7 separate regions of the Homo sapiens genome follow, and regions 2, 3, 4, 5, 6 and 7 are each linked to region 1. The links are contacts of gene promoters, found by promoter capture Hi-C in blood cells and fetal thymus (Javierre and others, 2016). All regions are on one chromosome and are shown on one strand. The core of a region is centred on a gene start or on the middle of the fragment in contact, and the rest is flanking DNA. Distances in the headings are between cores, read along the strand shown.

Evidence for each region. The method cuts DNA at HindIII sites, captures the fragments that hold promoters and counts their contacts. A CHiCAGO score of 5 or more calls a contact.
Region 2: a fragment that was not itself captured here is called in contact with the fragment with the promoter of SKIL in region 1 in 1 of 17 cell types (total CD8 T cells); the score reaches 6.1 in total CD8 T cells.
Region 3: a fragment that was not itself captured here is called in contact with the fragment with the promoter of SKIL in region 1 in 1 of 17 cell types (total B cells); the score reaches 5.2 in total B cells.
Region 4: a fragment that was not itself captured here is called in contact with the fragment with the promoter of SKIL in region 1 in 1 of 17 cell types (total B cells); the score reaches 6.6 in total B cells.
Region 5: a contact is called between a fragment that was not itself captured here and the fragment with the promoter of SKIL in region 1, in 2 of 17 cell types (fetal thymus and naive B cells). The highest score is 7.5, in fetal thymus.
Region 6: a fragment that was not itself captured here is called in contact with the fragment with the promoter of SKIL in region 1 in 2 of 17 cell types (total B cells and naive B cells); the score reaches 6.6 in total B cells.
Region 7: a fragment that was not itself captured here is called in contact with the fragment with the promoter of SKIL in region 1 in 7 of 17 cell types (naive CD8 T cells, activated CD4 T cells, total B cells and 4 more); the score reaches 9.7 in naive CD8 T cells.

The regions. Positions count from the first base shown.
Region 1 is chr3:170,356,266-170,358,965 of GRCh38, forward strand. It overlaps SKIL (SKI like proto-oncogene), which reads left to right and starts at 1,450. Exons shown (of 7, transcript NM_005414.5): 1 at 1,450-1,498. RefSeq lists an enhancer at 23-122 and silencers at 403-1,302, 1,463-1,692, 1,743-1,872, 1,963-2,032. The HindIII fragment of the contact is 9,771 bases long and covers 1-2,700 here.
Region 2 is chr3:169,780,340-169,783,039 of GRCh38, forward strand. MYNN (myoneurin) reads left to right here. Exons shown (of 8, transcript NM_018657.5): 4 at 251-410; 5 at 2,126-2,304. Among named protein-coding and RNA genes, the nearest start is that of MYNN, 8.3 kb to the left of the region's middle. The HindIII fragment of the contact is 3,421 bases long and covers 1-2,700 here.
Region 3 is chr3:169,664,783-169,667,482 of GRCh38, forward strand. No RefSeq gene overlaps it. Among named protein-coding and RNA genes, the nearest start is that of MECOM, 2.4 kb to the left of the region's middle. RefSeq lists an enhancer at 1,851-2,367. The HindIII fragment of the contact is 4,531 bases long and covers 1-2,700 here.
Region 4 is chr3:169,824,839-169,827,538 of GRCh38, forward strand. The region is part of intron 2 of LRRIQ4 (leucine rich repeats and IQ motif containing 4); the gene reads left to right. Among named protein-coding and RNA genes, the nearest start is that of LRRC34, 13 kb to the left of the region's middle. The HindIII fragment of the contact is 924 bases long and covers 873-1,796 here.
Region 5 is chr3:169,797,495-169,800,194 of GRCh38, forward strand. The region is part of intron 7 of LRRC34 (leucine rich repeat containing 34); the gene reads right to left. Among named protein-coding and RNA genes, the nearest start is that of LRRIQ4, 14 kb to the right of the region's middle. The HindIII fragment of the contact is 4,437 bases long and covers 1-2,700 here.
Region 6 is chr3:169,841,981-169,844,680 of GRCh38, forward strand. All of the region lies in intron 8 of LRRC31 (leucine rich repeat containing 31), which reads right to left. Among named protein-coding and RNA genes, the nearest start is that of LRRC31, 27 kb to the right of the region's middle. The HindIII fragment of the contact is 707 bases long and covers 939-1,645 here.
Region 7 is chr3:170,904,452-170,907,151 of GRCh38, forward strand. EIF5A2 (eukaryotic translation initiation factor 5A2) reads right to left here. Exons shown (of 5, transcript NM_020390.6): 3 at 2,538-2,642. Among named protein-coding and RNA genes, the nearest start is that of EIF5A2, 2.8 kb to the right of the region's middle. The HindIII fragment of the contact is 744 bases long and covers 1,048-1,791 here.

The sequences.
Region 1 (2,700 bases), core at 200-2,699:
GCCCCCACAGGAACAACCCGAAGCAGTAAAACTAGAAGAAATTGGACGAAAATGGGGGGGAAAAAAGGGACAAAGCTCGAGTCTCCTGAATTTTGTGCACTGCTACTCGGTGGACTATTTCAGTTCCTGATCTTGTGGTGGGGTGGAGAAAAGGGGATTTCTTGGTGTTTCGAAATGTGACGGAGCAGCTCTGCAGAGTTCAATATGCTAATCGGCTACCCTGGGAACCAGGAAGACCACCCTACACGCCTCAGAGGGTCACAGCCGGAAAGCTCTTGAGTCCTATCTTCCCTACCTCGTCTCGTCCCTCTCCAAAAAAACACACACACAAAAAAACACCCTCAGTAAACACTGTAAAAACCTTTAATTTATAGCTCCCTTCTGGAACCGAGAGAGCAGCCTGGTGGGGTGGAGGCAGGAGGCTGGGGAGTAGGGACAGAAATGTTTGCTCTCGGTTTTGCCGGAACTTTGGCCACCCCTCCCGCCCGGCCCGATGGCGGATGGAGGTCAGCCAGGGGAAGGCGTCTGGGTGGAGGCCGCCCGGGCGAGGCCGGGGCCGCCGGGGCGGGGCGGAGCGCCGGCAGCTGGCTGGGCGGCCCTCGGGCAGGAGGCCCCGCGGGGGCGAGGGGCAGCCCAGGAGGGAGGTCCCGCGGGGGCGGGGAGCAGAGCCGGCCCCGGGGGCCCTGCAGGGCGGCCGCCGCCCGGCTGCCTCCGGGGCGGGGCGGCCCAGCTGCGGCCCCGCAGGGGGAGGGTCGCCCGTGCCTGACCTCGGGCGGCGGCACTCTGCCGGGCGGGCACTGCCTCCGCCCTGCCGGCTGCTGGGGTCGCGCACAGTGCACCGCGCGGCTGCCCTGCCCCCTCTTCCCCGCTGCGCGGCGTCCGAGCGGCCAGGGCGCCCCCGCGTCTGGCCCATCACCACAGAGCGGCGGGTGGGGCGGGGGCGGGGCGGTGGCCCCAGACAGCCGGCTGGGCGACTAGAGGAAGGAAGGAGGGAGGGCGGCGGTGAGGGTGGGGTGGGGAGGGAACATCCTGTCTGCGCCGGGTGCACCGCAGACAGCGCCGCGCGCCAGCTTCCCAGACGGCGCGCGGGGCCAGAAGCGCCGGGCGCGCGCCTGGGGGGAGGGGCACGCGCGCGAGACGACGGGGCCAGGGGGGCGCTCTGAGGAGCCACAATAGGCCAGACGGCACGCGCGTCCACGAGGGGGCCGGGAGCCGCGAAGTGGCGGCGGCGGCGACGACGCCGGCGGGCCCGCGCGCGCGGCGCCGCCGCTGGCTCCGTTCCCTTCCCCTCCCCCTCCCCGCCGCCCTCGCTCTCCCCCGGGCGGCCGGAGACGGCGGCGGCGTCTGCGGGAAGCTGTGTGTCTCCGCAGTGACGTGGGCGGGCCGAGGACTCGGTGACGTCAGAGGGCTGTGTGTAGCGATGTGTGTGGGGTTCGGAGCCGCGCCGGCACAGCCGAAGGGAGCGGGCGAGCGGCGACGGCGGCGGCGGCGGGCACAGGTGCGGCTCCGGCTTACGGCGGCGACGCGGCGGAGGCGGCGGGAGGCCAGAGGCGCTCACCCTCCTAGGAGCCCGACGGCGGCGACAGGGGCGGTGGGGAATTCACAAAGCTCGTCGAGCTTACCCGGGCACCGAGGCCCGAGTAGGGGGTTTGGATGCGCGGGTCCCGGGTGGGGTCGGGGCCAGAGGGGGTCGCTAGGCGGGTGTTCCACGGCTGATCACGCTTCGTTGGCCCCAGGCGGTGGGCGCCGGCAGGGCAGGGCGCTGTAGTTGACGGGAGCCGCGGGGACCCCGGAGACCCGGACGCCCGTCACCGCCCCCCTCCCCCAGTCCAGCAGCGCTCCGCGGGGATGCCCTGGTCTCGACCCGGTCCGTCAGCCCCCGGCGGCGCAGGGATCCGCGCCCGGCGCCTAAACTGCCCTGGTGTCCTCTTCGTTCTGGCCCGGGGCTGGCGCGGGGAGGTGCAGCATTAGGGGCGCTGAGGTGACACCCGAGAACTTCCCAGGGAGAGGGTGCGCGGGGGGGTGGATTTCCACAGTCCTTCCCGCGGCCCCCGCGGGGGGGCGGTGTTGGGAGGGCACTTGGGGTTATCCCAGGCTCGCCGGTGGGGGTGGGGGGACTCCTCCCTTTACTTCCCTCCACCCCCTTGCACACCCACCCCCAGGCTTCCCGTGTCCCTTGTTCTCCCTCTCTCCGGGTTAGAGATAGGTGGGTGGCTTTGAGTGGGCGGAGGACTTCAGGGTTTTAGGGGCTCCCCCATTCTAGGTCATGCCTCTTGCTCTCTTCCTTGGCCTGTGTTGAGTAAGGTGTGTTCCTGTGGTGGACGAAAGTCTGTACGATGGTTGGTGGCATTGGTCCTTAATCCTTTGGGTCTGTTTTAAGGTAAAGTGCTGAGAGTTTGGGAAGCAAAAATTTCTATTTATTGGATTTCTTTTGGCTTTTCTCTCAAGAAGGAAGTGGAAAAAGAGTCTTTTCTTTTTCCCTCTTCCTCCATTTGCATTCTTTGTGAGGTTTGTCTGCCTTGTGCTTTTTGTCCCGGATTAGTCTTGTTGAAGGATGGAGATTCCCAGGCGTGGAGTCTATAGCTTTTGGCTTCCATTAAGTAAAATCGCTAACCTTTTTTTAAGAGAAAGTTAATTTTTGCCTGCAGTCATTCCAGAAAAATAGTGTACACGGACTAGCTGAATTAATCCACTTAAAAT
Region 2 (2,700 bases), core at 96-2,595, 580 kb before region 1:
GAGCCACCGAGCCCAGCCCTAGATTCGTACTTTTTAAAATGCTGTATGTATTTATCTCGTGAATTCAGAAACACTAATTTCTTTTGATTCTACTGGTGTTTTCAGTGGTCTGGAAAAGATTATATTTGTTTTCAGTTCCAACAGTTAACATTTTCTTAATAACAAAGCTAGTACTGTTGATGAAATCTTATATGACTTATGCAACCAAAACACTATTTTCTTCTAAATATAAATTTTATTGTTCCTTTAGGTGAGAAGCCATACAAATGTGAATTGTGTGATAAAGGATTTGCTCAGAAATGTCAGCTAGTCTTCCATAGTCGCATGCATCATGGTGAAGAAAAACCCTATAAATGTGATGTATGCAACTTACAGTTTGCAACTTCTAGCAATCTCAAGATTCATGCAAGGTAAAAAACCAAATGAGTTGTTTGATCTTTTAGTCTTTTAATCACCATAGTCTTATGAATAGACTATTATATTAGAATTCAGGACAGTAGAATTGTAATTGTGGTTCCACCAAACAATGTTAACACGTTCAAGGAACCACAAGGAAGCCACAGTGGTTGATAGGAAATAAGCAGGGGGTGGGGACTACTAGGAAATAAGGTCAGACTCGTCCAGAAGTAAGATCAGAATGGTCCAGAATGCAGCTTAAGAGGATCATTCTGACTGGTATAGGATTATAAGAGTGGAATCAGGGTAAACAGGAATCTATAGATAAAACCCAAGCAAGGGTGATGGTGGTTCAGGCCAGGGTGGCAGCAGTGAAAGAAATAAGTAGTAGTAGATTCTGGATATATTTTAAAGTTAGAAATAATAGAATTTGCAAACAGATTGTATGTGAAGTCTGGAAGAGAGTCAAAGATGATTCTGAGGTTTTGGGCCTGAACCCCTATAAAGATGGAGCTGCCATTAACTGAGATAGAGAAGGTTTGTGGGTAGAACAGTTTAAGTGGAAGTGCAGGAATTTACGAGTACAGTTCTGTGTGTGTTAAATTTGAGATGACTTAACACTTCTGAATAGAGGTGTGCAATAGATAATTGGTTATCTAAGTCTGCAGTTCAGGGGACTGGTTTGAGCTGAAGATAACAGTTTGGCAATCATTAGCGTTTGGCAGTCATCAGCATATGACAGTATTTAAAGCTGTAACCCTGGCTAAGGTCACCAAGAGAGTGAATGTGGACAGAAGAAATCAAAAGACGGCCCTGAGGCACTCTAACTTTATGAGTTCTGAGAGATGGGTGAGAACCAGCAGAGGTAACTAGGAAGGAGCAGCCAGTAGAGGAGGAAAACCAGGAAAGAGGGCTGCCCTGGAATCCCAAGTGAAGGAAGTTATTCCAGATGGGAGTGGTCAATTGTAAAATTCTGTGATAGGGAGATGAAGACTGAGAACTGACGTGGATTTAGTAAAGTGGGAAGTCAGCAGTGCTCTTGACAAAAGTATCATTAGTAGAGGCCAGTAGAGAAGAAATGGAAGTAGATAGAACACTTGGAGTCTCAAGGTTTTGGTAAAGGGGAGCAGAGAATGGAGGAGCAAGTAAGGTCAAGGGTCTTTGTTTTGTTTTTGGTTTTTTTTTAATATGGGAGACATCAGTATATTTGTATACCATAATCCAATGGAGTGAGAAACATGGATGATGTAGGACTGGGGAAACTGCAGAAGTGATATCATTAAGTAGGATCTCAAGTATACAAATTGGAATTGATGGATTCAGATGAACTGTCACCCTCATGTCATATGAATTTTTCTCAGTGAAATAGGAAGCAGGGATGTCACCTGAGAGTTACAATGGGCAAGGAGATGCTGATGGTTTGAGGAGAGAGTTCACAAGTCAAAGAGTGACTAGACTCATGAAAATAATTGCCTGCAGTATTAGGGGCCCACTGACAACCATATAAAGATCATGGAAAAACTTTTTGAACTGATCTCAGAACTAATGTTTTGATAATAAGAAATATTTGTTTTTGGCAGTGTTTACACTGAAACAACTACTGATTTTAAATACATAGTCTTGGCCTGTTAAGATGACATGAAATAAAATCTATAAAAAACTTTATGAATTCTTGCTATATAGACTGACCTCCAAATTGTTTTACTTATTTAACTTTATTTACTAACAGGAAGCATAGTGGAGAGAAGCCATATGTCTGTGATAGGTGTGGACAGAGATTTGCTCAAGCCAGCACACTGACCTATCATGTCCGTAGGCATACTGGAGAAAAGCCTTATGTATGTGATACCTGTGGGAAGGCATTTGCTGTCTCTAGTTCTCTTATCACTCATTCTCGAAAACATACAGGTAAGTTTGACAGGGAGAGACTGCTTAAAATAAAGTTATAAATAAAAGAAAAAGGGGACTTGGGCCTTTTAGCGAAGTAGATCGGAAACTTTGTAGTTAGATATCTGTTTATATTTCTATAAGCTATGTTTATGATTTTTGCACATATTTGTTAAATATAAAAGCTGACTTATTTTCTAGAATAATACAAGGTGGGTGAAATAAATTATATAACTTACACATTAAAATCAGTGAGATAATTTTGATATTATATAAACTTGCATTGAGATGCATTTTGTGACTTTATAAAAACCTTTTCAGCTTCCTAAAGGGTCATCTCCTATAGTTAGGGTTGGGGAGTGGGTTTGGGTTGAACATGGATTTTTAAACTTCTTAGGACCTTTCCTACACAGATAT
Region 3 (2,700 bases), core at 167-2,666, 690 kb before region 1:
TGCAACAATACATCCTTGATGTTCAAGTTAAAGGAAAAGAAAAGCAGGTCCTGGGCATGAGTTTGGCAAAGGCTGTGGAGGGAAAGGGGAATCATTGAGAATGCCCAGTCGTACCTGTTGGTATTTATTATCAAATCTAGGACTGCAGACATGAGAGAGCAAATAACAAGGTTCAACCCCAAAGGGTATCAATGGCCTGCAAATCTCTTTATTCAAGAGAATCAAAGTTCAAAGAATTTGTCCTTGTTAAGGATGCCTACCATTTTCCTTTATCCAGAGCTGTGTAATTCTGGGGGCATTTGGCTGTAAGATAGAGGTCCCTGGAGAACCAAGCTACAGGTCTCAAGGGAGACAGATGTATAAGGTTGAAATGTGAGGAAGGGAAGTAGGAAGGTAAAGGAGGGAATTACTCACAACAGGAGTAAAACAACTTCCAAAAGAGAAGGCTCTAGTGCCCACACGCGTGGGCACAAGAGAACTCTATTATCCACTCTGAATTAAAGAGGCACCTGGGTTTTTTTCCAGACCTAGAATTCCCGCTGTCCTGTGCATAAAGGTGAGTGTGCTAACACATTTGGTGTGTGCAAAAGCACCAGCCATTCCAACATTCTGTTAGGTTCACACAGGTCTTTGACTCTGAAACTTCCCCCAAAATGTGACTCCACCAGCTTCCCTCAGTTTAGATGGAGAGGTGCCTACCCTCTGACCAGCAAATGTCCTCCGAGGAAACGGAGAAATGGGTCTTGAGAGGCTTTGGAAGGGGGGACAAAATCTCTAGGGAGAGACAAACACTAGGCTGACTGGCAAGAAGTTCATAAGGCTGCTTCTGATCGGTGTAAGAGACTCTCTAGGGACCATCCCCTAGGCCAGGGGACAGACCAGCAGCACCTGAAGATCCCAGCTGTCAAAATCTAGGTCTTGTCCCTCCAATCCTCACCTTCCCTGCCAGGCACCCCAGGGGTGGCTGAGCACCTTGCCTTGGTGCCCAACCGCCAAGGTAGCTTAAAAAAAAAAAAGAAAGAGAAGAAAAGAAAAAAGAAAAGAACCGCCATCCTCCCCTCCACTCCTCCGGCTAATCCCTTTCACCTCATCCCCAGGGGGTCTGTCTATGTCTAGGTTCCCTTGGAGACGGGAGGTTAAGAGGGGTGCAAGAAATGTTCCTAGGAAAGGAGGGGACCAAGGTACCAAACTCTGAGATTAAATGCAAGACCCACATGTGAAGCTGAGCTTGCTGTTGCTGCTGAGAAATTATAAACCACGTGGAGGGTTGGGGAGGTAGGGGGTGGGTTCTGTGAGGGGAACTGGGTGGGAGGTGGAAGACTGAAGTGAATCGGAGTCTCCGAACCTCCAAATTTAAAGGTCCCCGTCTTTTAAACTTTTCTAGAAGGGGGGTTGGCGGAGTGGGAGGCGGAATGAGGCGCGGCTGGAGTACCCCTCCCCTTCTGGTTTGAAGTCTCCGCTGTCGCTTCAGCGCTCCAGCTTTCTCCCTGGTCTTTCTAACAGTTTCGGGCCACGAGAAAATCCAACCCCTTCTAACAAATAATAAACGCAAACTCTTCTCTGTCCCCAGACCAAGCCATTGTGAAAAGACAAGACATCGTCTTTTAAATAAATAAAAGTATTCTCAATATCATTCGTTTTTTATTTTCAAACCTAAAAGCTGGGCTTCTTTTCCTTTTCTCTCCTTTTCTTTTTCTTTCTTTATCATTAGCTTTCTGCCCTAAGTGTGCGCTAATAAAGAGCTAAGTTGCTAGTTCAAGTGTGTTTAACCTGATGGAGCAAACACCCAGCAGCAACCGGTCGCGCTCGCGGCTGATAGCGCCGCGACCTCTGCGCGTCCGCCCCGGCCGGTTCCCATTCTCAAGTGCCTGGACCCTGTCACTTCCACCTGTCCCAGTCCCAGCCGTGAGACCAGAGCAGGTGACTGTTCAGCAGCCCCTAGAGTTCCCGACACCCTCTGACGGGATGTCTGAGCTGTCGCTGGCCCAAGAGAAAAGAGGCCTCCAACAAGTTGGCGGAGCTGCCCTAGCTACCCGCCCCCACCCCACCTCTCGCCTTTCCCTCTCCTCCTGAAATTCGTTTTCTTGGGGGACAGTAGCATGCATTCCAACGTTTCCTTGTGTTTTCTCCCACGGAAGCGAGCATCCTGGAAGCAGTGCCTCGTTGGAAAGTCGATGGGTTTACAGACTGTCTGGGTTTGCTTGTTTTATTGCTGTCACTTTTTGTTTCGTGTTTTTGTTTGTTTAGCAGAAGTGAAGAGATTGAGATAGAAGTTAGAAGGAAAATGGGACATTGATGAGAAAGACACAGACAAGTATATCCCTTCCCCAACTATATTTTTTAAATTAATGTTAGAAATGGCAAATAACCGATTTTCAATACATTACATGCAACAGGAAGTTTTCCTTTCCTCTCATTTTAATTGAACCGGCCCCACGGTATCTTTGGAAGAAAGTTTGAATTCTTTATGGAGGTATTTCGAGGCCTATTGTCTTTGTGCAGTGAACTTTACATCATGCTATTCAATCACAACCTATATTCTCCTGGCTACCAGCAAGATTAATTTAATCATTGTAATGCAATTATTAATACTGTTTACCCAATGCTGGGTTTCAGGTTGGCTGTTAAGAAATTAAACTCTCGCTGGGTGACCAGAGCTAGGCAGGGGTTTCTTCATGTTGAAATGAAACAGTCCTCTTT
Region 4 (2,700 bases), core at 85-2,584, 530 kb before region 1:
AATAGCTGTTAAGAGCAAAAGACAACTGTAGAGGGAGTAAAAAGGGGAATTTGGAAATCAACAACTATAATCAAATAATAGGTCTGCTTTACCTGGCCATGGACACCAGTCTCATGTGTTCCCTATAAATTATAAAAGTCCTGGGCCTTACGGATTTATTTTTAAAAATCTTTTTTTTTTTTTTTTTGAGATGAGCTCTCGCTCTGTTGCCCAGGCTGGAGTACAATGGCGCCATCTCAGCTCACTGCAACCTCCACCTCCCAGGTTCAAGCGATTCTCCTTCCTCAGCCTCCCGAGTAGCTGGGACTATAGGTGCCTGCCACCACGCCCGGCTAATTTATGTATTTTTAGTAGAGGCAGGGTTTCACCATATTGGCCAGGCTGGTCTCAAACTCCTGACCTCATGATCTGCCCACCTCAGCCTCCCAAAGTGCTGGGATTACAGGCGTGAGCCACTGTGCCCGGCTGCTAAAAAAATCTTTTATTTGATTTTTTATTTCTAGAACTTTTTTCCCCAAATTGCTATGGGGTTTTAAAGCTGCCTTTCAGGAAGTAAACATTTTGATGGTAACTTGTAGATTTAGGTCGAGATTCTAGGACTTAATCTCCACTGATGTAGCAACTCACCTTGGAGGATTTTTGAGGTTCCGTGAGAGCCCGGCCCTGAACTATTCCACTGCTGATGTAAGAAATTCCTTTTAGTGGACTAAGTCAGTCATTCTGCAGTTGGAGTGAAAGACTTAAAATATAAAGTACATGTGGGAGGGATAACACATTATACTGAGCCATGAATAATACCTAATCCTTTTCTGAGAGAAATTTTAAGAAATCAAAGGAGCAAATCACACACAGACTGCTTGTTAACAAAAATAAGCTTCATCCAATACCAAGTTTTAGCACAAGTCAAACTGCACTGAAATGTAGACATGTTAAATATTATTGTATTGAACATGACAATCTCTGTGTACCAGTGCTTTTTCCTCTTCAGTTATTCTGATGGGTTTTGTGTGTGTGTGTGCATTTGTCCTCCCTTCTCAATTTCCTCTTATGCTAATACCACCTTCCAATGCATTTCTCTCCTCAATGAAACATGGCCTTTAAGCCAGCTCATTATCTCTCCCTCCCCAAAGACTCAACTCATGGGTTACTAGCTCTTAAAGCCTAACCAGTAGCTTCTACTTGCCTGTGTGCATGCAAAAAATATCTGATTTTCAATGTGTACCTAGATGGATTTTATTTGTAGAGTATACTTCTATTAAAGGAGAAAAGCAGGCCACGTGCGGTGACTCACGCCTGTAATCACAACACTTTGGGAGGATGAGGCGAGTGGATCAACTGAGGTCAGGAGTTTGAGACCAGCCTGGCCAACGTGGCGAAACCCCATCTCTACTAAAAATACAAAAATTAGCCGGGCATGGTAGTGGGCACCTGTAATCCCAGCTACTCGGGAGGTTGAGGCAGGAGAATCGCTTGAACCCAGGAGGCAGAGGTTGCAATGAGCCAAGATTGTACCATTGCCGTCCAGCCGAGGCAAGAAGAGTGAAACTCCGCCTCAAAAAAAAAAAAAGAAAAAGAAAAAGGAAAAAACCAAAACAATGTACCAGATCCCAAAATGGCTATATGTCAGTTACAGTGTCATCAGTAATTGTCCTCATCTAATGCTCTACAGATTTTCTATACATCTAGATTTCTTCTCATTATACTTTACTATGACTATGATGAAACTAACTACTGGATCTTAAATACTCCTAAAAAAAATTTTTGAACATTCAATGTGCTTTGAAAAAGAAAAGCTAAGCTTTTATGAGTTAAGTGAACAGCAATAAGAATGAAATTTCTAGGTTATAATAAAATGGTTAGATTGAAAAATCTTTTTTCATTGTTTTGGACTGCACAGAATGCAGGCATTTTGTATTGAAGACATCTAAGTGCTTGATGAAGAATTTTGAAATAGCCAAAGAGGAAAGCTTAAACATCAGTTTCTCCAAAGATTGACTTCATCTAATTAAAATAAATAGGTAAATAAATAAAACTGGAAAACTGTTACAGCATTTTTAGGAAAATGAGTCCTTACTCTACACAAAAAAGAGAAAAATGCATTATGGAAGATTCCAAGTATGTGAAACTTTTACAGATAGGTTGTCCTCAGTGAACTTTCTTTTTCTCCAACTGTAAGTGACCCATTCACCAATTACCTGTCTATTCCACCCATCCATAGAGAGGTGGGGGTGGGAGTGGCTCAGCTGAGCTCTAGCCAGAATGAAAGTAGGGTGGCTGACTAGGGAATGGATGGGAAGAATGCCCATGGGCTCAAGCAGGGAACTGTGGGGAAGGATTTCCCAGTTAGGAATTAAGCCAGATAAAGGAACATATGAGTTAAGGAGCTGTTGAGCTATATAGCTGGGATTTTTTTCTACGAGAAAATAAGGCATCTCTGTAACACAGTCAATAGGGTGATTGTCACATATTTTAAGAATGAGATTTTTTCGCCGGGTGCGGTGGCTCATGCCTGTAATCTCAGCACTTTGGGAGGCCTAGGCGGGCGGACCACGAGGTCAGGAGATCGAGACCATCCTGGCTGACATGGTGAAACCCCGTCTCTACTAAAAATACAAAAAATTAGCCGGGCGTGGTGGTGGGCGCCTGTAGTCCCAGCTACTCGGGAGGCTGAGGCAGGAGAATGGCGTGAACCCGGGAAGC
Region 5 (2,700 bases), core at 74-2,573, 560 kb before region 1:
TCTAGGTAAAAGATACATGGCATCAATGAAGATTTGAATACCAGGCATTTTAAGTTTTTAGTAAAATCAAAGCATATTTTCAAATGAATGGCCCAAAGTATTTTGTGACAAGAAGTACTCTTGCATGATTGCTGTATAACATAATAAGTTTTTTAGTCACTGGAAATGCTGATGATGAACACAGATAACTATATGTGTTCTTGTTATATATAAAGGTACTTTGAAAAAAACTTTAAATGAAACCACATAGCAATAGCAGAAAGTACATGAGCTTTATAAAAATCAAGTCTGTCAGATACTAGCTCTACCTTTTACTGGCTATATGACTTTGGGCAAATATTTTCATCTAGCTGAGTCTCAGTTTCCATTTTAGTAAAGTAGCTGAAATTATGCTTCCCTCACAGAAATAAGTTAACTAATAAAAGGTACCTAGCACAAAATAAGTGTTCCATAAGCAGCCTACAAAGCATTTATTATTGTTCAATATTCTGTAATTCTGTATTTGCTGAAATTGCTTTGACACTGAAAAGATACACCCAAAGGAATGCTATGTAGACTAGGATCTTTAAAAATGCACGCCAACCATGCTAAAGGGATGCTATGTAGTCTAGGAACGTAAAAAAATGCAAACCAACCACTTAGGGGGTTCCACTATTGCTCTTCCTAGTGCCAGGCACAGAGGACAAACTCAGTACGTTTTTGTGTTTGGGCCTTGATTGCAGTTTTAGGCTACAACGCTTGAAAGCAGGAGTATCCTAATTAAGGGAGGAACTATTGTCAGAAATAGTAAAGGGTTTTAGCCCCATTCACTGAGTTTGTGACTTGATTTGTCTAGAGTGGCACCTGGCATCAGTATTTTTCAAGCTCCCCGGATAATGCCAATGAGCATTAAAGGTGAAGTCCAACATCTTAACAGCTTTTTGTTATCCCATTCCTCCACGGTAATAAAACAGTAAAACCCGTACATGGAATAGATTTGCAGGTTTGTATTTGGGAACAGCAATTTAAGAGCAGAATAGTACCCTTGGGGATAGAGAAGGTAGTGGCTGTCCTGGAGAAGAACAAAACAGACTAGCACCTAGCTGGCTGCCAGAAGCACCAAGCTGAGAGCAACAAGGGGGCCTGGGCTTTTAATAATAAGCATCCTCAGGTGGATTTAGGAATGACACCACTCAACATATTTTAAAAAGGGATCATGCTTATAATGTGATCTCCTATATATAAACATATTTCCACAGAGATAAAATCCAGAAATGTATTTAGCCCTCGAATCTCCTGTCATGTCCTCAATCTGAGAACCTCCCTACCACACTCACCTCCCCTGCTTTGATTCTGATTACCCTCCTTATGTCCCCATGGCACCCCGGGCATATCACTCTCCAGACTTGTCAAGCTCCCTCCACCTAGATGGAAAACTCACTGAAGACAAGTGCTATGTAATTTATTTGACTTTAATACCTCTAGCACCTCGCTAGCATTGTGTCTTGTTTAAGGTTGCATTCAAATATTCATGGTGTGAATGAATCATGAGTGAAGCAATTCACTGCATGCCTACTTTGAGCTGTATTTTGCTAGTCTTTTAAGTATTTTTAAAATAGGAATCTATTTGAAGATTCTGAGTGTCTTGTTGAACAGATTGGATTTACGTACATGAAACAACGTGATGTAAAACCACAAAAATTCTGGTACCAAAAAGTGCAGCGATAACTCAAAGGGAGAGATCTATGTAGGCAAAGAATGTAAAATACACTTCTGAATATGAGAATACTACTTTAAAAATATCATTAATTCTCAGTGATTCATACTAAGGGGGAACAATGAAGTAGATAATTTTAAATTATCTAAAGTGCTTTAATCATTTAAAAAGTTCAGAGTTTGGCTGGGCATGGTAGCTGATGCCTGTCATCCCAGCACTTTGGGAGGCCAAGGCAGGCAGATAGCTTGAGCTCAGGAGTTCAAGACCAGCCTGGGCAACATGACAAAACCCTGTCTTTACCAAAAATACAAAAAAATTTAGGTGGGCATGGTGGTGCATACCTGTGGTCCCAGCCACTCAGGAAGCTGAGGTGGGAGGATCACTTGAGGCCAGGAGGTGGAGGCTGCCGTGAGCCGATATCATGCCACCGCACTCCAGCCTGGGTGACAGAGTGAGACCTCATCTCAAAAAAGAAAAATAAAGTTGAGAATTCAAACACTGACATTGATTGATTGATTGATTGATTGATTGATTGAGATGAAGATGAAGTCTCGCTCTGTCGCCCACGCTGGAGTGCAGTGGTGCAATCTCGGCTCACTGCAACCTCTGCTTCCTGGGTTCAAGCGATTCTCCTGCCTCAGCCTCCCAAGTAGCTGGGATTACAGGCACCTGCCACCATGCCTGGCTAATTTTTGTACTTTTAGTAGAGACTGGATTTTGCCATGTTGGCCAGGCTGGTCTCAAACTCCTGACCTCAGGTGATCTGCCTGCCTCAGCCTCCCAAAGTGCTGGGATTACAGACGTGAGCCACCGTGCCCGGCCAAACATTAAATTTTAAACATTGAACTTTATAAAGTGCTTTGACCATTTACTTTTCCTAATAGTTAGATATATGTTTTTGTTTATACCAATAATAACATGAGTTCTTATTCTCTAGCTGTTTACAAGTGATAGGAGAAGAAAGCCACCCAGAAGGAGAAAGAAGTCATGAAAGTAGGAACCAC
Region 6 (2,700 bases), core at 42-2,541, 510 kb before region 1:
GTTGCAGTGAACCAAGATCGTGCCACTGCACTCTAGCCTGGGTGACACAGCAAGACTCCCTCTCAGAAAAAAATAAAATAAAATACATAAATAAATAAATTTATTTTTTGTTTGGATTTTATAATGTGAGCACCCTATTTTATTATATTTTATTATTTTAGATTTATTACATTTTAAAAAATCTAGGTAGGGGAAATGTAGGCCATGGGTATACTCTTTATAGTTTACTGTATGAAAAAATAAATGCCATTAATTATTTTTAAAATGTATATAAGCTAGTGATTAACAAATTTTTAATGTTTCTATTAGAAAAAATATAAAAGTGACAATTGCTAAAACCACATATAGTAATACTTGTTTTTTGTTGCTGTTGTTGTTTTTGTTTTTTTGAGATGGAGTCTGCTCTCTTGCCCAGGCTGGAGTGCAATGGCGCAATCTCAGCTCACTGCAACCTCCATCTCCCGGGTTCAAGTGATCCTCCTGCCTCAGCCTCTCGAGTAGCTGGGATTACAGGCACCTGCCACCATGCCCAGCTAATTTGTGTACTTTTAGTAGAGACAGGGTTTCACCATGTTGGCCAGGCTGGTCTCGAACTCCTGACCTCAGGTGATCCACCTGCCTTGTCCTCTCAAAGTGCTGGGATTACAGGCGTGAGCCACCATGCCTGGCCTGTAATACTTGTTATTGAGTAAAAATTCAAAGAAGGAAAATATACCCTGATAAAATGTAAAAGTATAAATTTGACCTGAGAAAAAAACTGTCAGTAAAAATTAAGAAAAAATATACAATGGCTGAAGACATGGTGAATAAAATTTGATGCAGACAAAAATAAAAAAGACCGAAATGAAGAAGCAAATTTTAATTATAAACATTAAATAAAATAACTTAAATATATTTAATGGTGTCTAATTCAGAGAAATAAATAAATAAAAATCAAAAGCTTATTTTTTAGAAGACACAACATCAATAAACCCCTTGCAGTAGTCAGAATTCTAAATAGCCACCTTAAGATTTCCATTGTATCCCCAGGACTGAATGTGGTAGATTTTGCTCCCAGAATTAGCTTAGGCTATATGGCACACCTGACTTTAAGAAAGGGAGATTATCCATATGGAGTCAACCTAATCACATGAGCCCTTTAAAAGCAGAGAGAATTTCCTCCTACTGCTGGCAGAAGAGGAAGGAAGTCACAGAAGTCAGAGAGATTTAAAGTGTGAGAGGCACGGACAATCCACTCCTGTCTTGAAAATGAGGGGCCATGTATCAAGGAATGTGGCTGGCCTCTAGTAGCTGACAGCAGCCCCCAGCTGAGAGCTAGCAAGAAAACGGGACCCTCAGTCCTAAAGCTGCAAGGTCCTCGACTCTGTCAACAAGAATGAGCTTGAAAGTGGATTTATTCCTAGAGCCTTCAGATGAGAACTCAGCCAGGCTGACACCTTGATTTTAGTGTTGTAATACCCTACACAGAGAACCGACACAAGCTGTGTCAGACTTCTTACCTACAGAACTGTGAGCCGGGTGAGGGATGAGAAATTACTTAATGATGCATTATTCATTTGGGTGATGGTTACATCAGCACCCCAGACTTCACCACTACAATATACGCATGGAACAAAACTGCACTGGTGCCCCTCACATTTATATAAGCTTTTAAAAAGAACTGTGAACAAATACATGGATATTGTTTTAATCCACAAATTAACATGTTACACAGCAACAGAAAACTAATACCTTTGGTCAGACTAGCCAAGAATAAAGAGATAGAAACACAAATTATCAATATCAGGAATGAGACAGGTGGTATCACTATGGGCAGTAAAAGGATAACAAGGAAACAACTTTATTTCCATAAATTCAACAACCTAGATGAAATGGGCCAATTTCTTAAAAGACACTATCAGAACTTGCTTAAGAAGAAATAGACAACTGGAATAGTCCTAGCTCTATTTTTTTTCTATCTCTATTTTTTAAATTGAATTCGTAATTTAAAATATCCCACAAAGAAAATTCCAAGTTTAGATGGCTTCAGTGGTGAATTCTGTGAAACAGTTGAGCAATAAATAATACCAATTTTACACAATCTTTCTGGAAAATAAAAGAGGAAGGAACACTTTCCAACTCATTGTATGAGGCTACCTATACCCTCATAACAAAGCCAGACAAAGACATTATAAGAAAACCAGTAGACTATTATCCCCTTGTGAACATAGGCACAAATATCCTCAACAGAATATTAGCAAATAACATCCAACGCTATATAAACAAGATAATACATAATGACCATGACCAGGCTGATTTAACATTAAAAAATCAGCTAATATTATTAATTATTATCATTCATTATTATTATGAATATTAATGAACTATAGTTTTTTTAAATGCTCATCTCAATAGATGCAGAAAAATATAATTTGACAAAATTCGTTATAAGAACTCTTAGCAAATTAGGATTCCTTAACCTGATAAAGGGTAGCTACAAAAAAACCTATAGCTAACATCATACTTAATGGTGAAAAATGGAATGCTTTTCCCCTTAGCTTAGGGGACTAAGACTGGAAGCAAGGCAAGAATGCTCTCATCTCATTCAACATCTATTGGAAATCTAGCCAGCTAAATAACCAAGAAAAAGAAAGAAAAGATACACAGAGATAAAGAAATAAATCTGTCTCTAGGCCGGGCACAGTGGCTCACGCCTGTAAT
Region 7 (2,700 bases), core at 170-2,669, 550 kb after region 1:
AGTGAAGACCACCATAGCACAATAAATATAAATAGAAAGGCCCACAGAACTTTTGTTTTTGAGACAGGGTCCCACTCTGTCGCCCAGGCTAGAGTGCAGTGGAGTGATCACAGCTTAGTGCAGCCTTGACCTCCCAAGGCTCAAGTGATCCTCCCACCTCAGCCTCTGGGTCTGCTGGGACTACAGCTGTGTACACCACCATGCCTCGCTAATTTTTTTTTTTCTGTATTTTGTAAAGATGGCGTCTCACCACATTGCCCAGGTTGGAGAACTAGTTTTTTAAACAATTAACAGAAATAAGTTATTTTTCTATGCTGACTTGAAAATGAAGAGCAGAGAAATACTGAATACTTTCTATGCCAGGCGTTGTTGTATTAACTAATTAAACCTCAAAATGATCCCATGAGGCGTTATTATTTATGTCTCTGCTTTATAAAGAAAGAAATGGAAGCAAAACAGGTTAAGTAACTTGTCAACCAAGGTCACACAGCTATTAAGTGCCAAAGTAAGACTAGGACCAGGCCTGCCTGGCTTAAATCATCCTCTTATCCACTTTGCAGTGCGGAGTACATACCAAGGGTTGGGACAAGGGTGAAGTAAGACACTTGTCTTGGGTGCAAAATTAAAGAAGGCACCAAAAAAACCTCAGTGATCAGATAGGCATTTTAATGCAATATTTTAAAAAATTAGAATTAATGCAAAAATCCTATGATAAAATACCAAAATTCTAAATAAAGATGGGATCAGAATTAATTTTCTTTGCGCCTTGAGCTCCTATATGGCTTGTCATTGTTACTAGTTCTGTCTTTATTTAAAATTTTGTGCCTGAGGCAAGAGCCTCCCTCACTTCATTTGCCTCATCCTAGTCTAGGACCCAAACCAAATTTTTCCTTTAAGTCTTGAGCTCCAATCAATGACTGGCTAACCTTATCATAGTATAATAGTAATTATCTGAACTGCTGATACCATCTTTCTGAAACATGCAACAGGCAAAAGCATTCTATATTGAATGAATATTACTGAATATAATTAATATTGAATAGTCAAAGCTTTCATACTTTAAGACGAAAAGAGAAACCCAATTTTGACAACATTCTACGCTCAACTTTAGCCTGCTGTACTATCTCTACCACATTCAGTAATCACATATACATTTAACAAATATTTTTCGAGCACCTACTATGTACCACATCAAAGTTGGTGCTCCAACAATAATGAAATGATTAAGTAGAATTTTTACATAGGAAAAGGGGGAAACAGAACAGCACTTTTTGGTACGTATCTACTTATGGAGTTCTTAATGGGGTACATTTTCTCATTTAATCCTCCTATTATCACTATTTTGTAGATGAGAAAACAGGCTCAGAAAGGTGTATAACTTGTCCAAAATCATCCAACTAGAAAGTGACAGAACTAGATCCAAACCCAGATCTACCTGGTTAAAAAAACCCACTTGCAAGACAATTCAAATTTCTACAAAGACTTCAAAGCAACCTAGAAAACATTTATGACAAGTAGGAAAGTGAAAATATAAAAGTGTTTACTAGATTAAAACCACAAAAAAGTATGTTTGCATGTGGACAAACAGCAAAAGGAAATCATTGCGTAAGTGCAGTTGATAGCAACATTAAAAGAAATTTATACAATACAACAAAGGGTACAGAAAAAAATCAGTTTAAGTCGGATAAAACAAATACCAGTGTCAACTTTGTATTTTTCACTATGTAAAATGAGCAGAAATGAGTTTGATATATGGTATGCTTGATACAGAAATTGAAGACTTTCAAGAAAAGCTTTAGTTATAAGTAATCTGAGCTTCCACATCCTATAAGGTCAATTATTTTGTTATCATCAATACTTCAAACAACAAAATGCTATCATTAAATATGACCTACCCAAATGTATAACTGGAACTAAAACTTGAAATTTACATACATAATTTAGCAAAAGGTCATAGCATGGTCACTAAGTATAATTTAACCAATTATATAGTTTTTGTGTTTTCTTCACCATACTCAGTGACCAGGTACTTTATCCTTTATATTTATGGCTTTCAACTTATTTCTCTACTTAAGAATGTCAAGTTCTGACTAACATTCATTAATGCAAAAACTTGGTAGGAACATGAATTTCAGTAGTTTCTTGAATGTCTCAGGTCTGATCAGTGAAAAGAAACAAAACATCCAGGAGGGATGTTTTAAATTAGAACAAGAAATATTTTACAACAGAGAGAATAGTACTTTTACTAAACATTGGACTTAATTGCAATATGCAGTCACTTGGCCTGAGAACACTAATAAGTATTTGACTTTTTAAAAAATGCAAGAATGTGAAAAAAATAGCAAACTAGCAATAATCCTAGAAAAGTACATGTGTTAAACATCACTATTTCTCCAATTTCTAAGATAGCTGGTGCCTAATAATTGGTTAGAAAAACCTACAAAACTACTCTTGGGTTTTGTCAAATTATTACTGATAGTACAAAGTATTTGCACCTTGAAGAAACAAGCAACATTCTAAAGAAAATCAGTGCTTACTTGATAATCATTTCTCTTAATATTTGGAACATCCATGTTGTGAGTAGAAGGACAAATATCTTCATATTTTTTGCCCGTGAAAATATCAATTCCAACAAGGTGAACCTAACAGAGGAGAACAGGAAACCTGTTTAATCTCTGCCAAGTATATCACTCATTACAC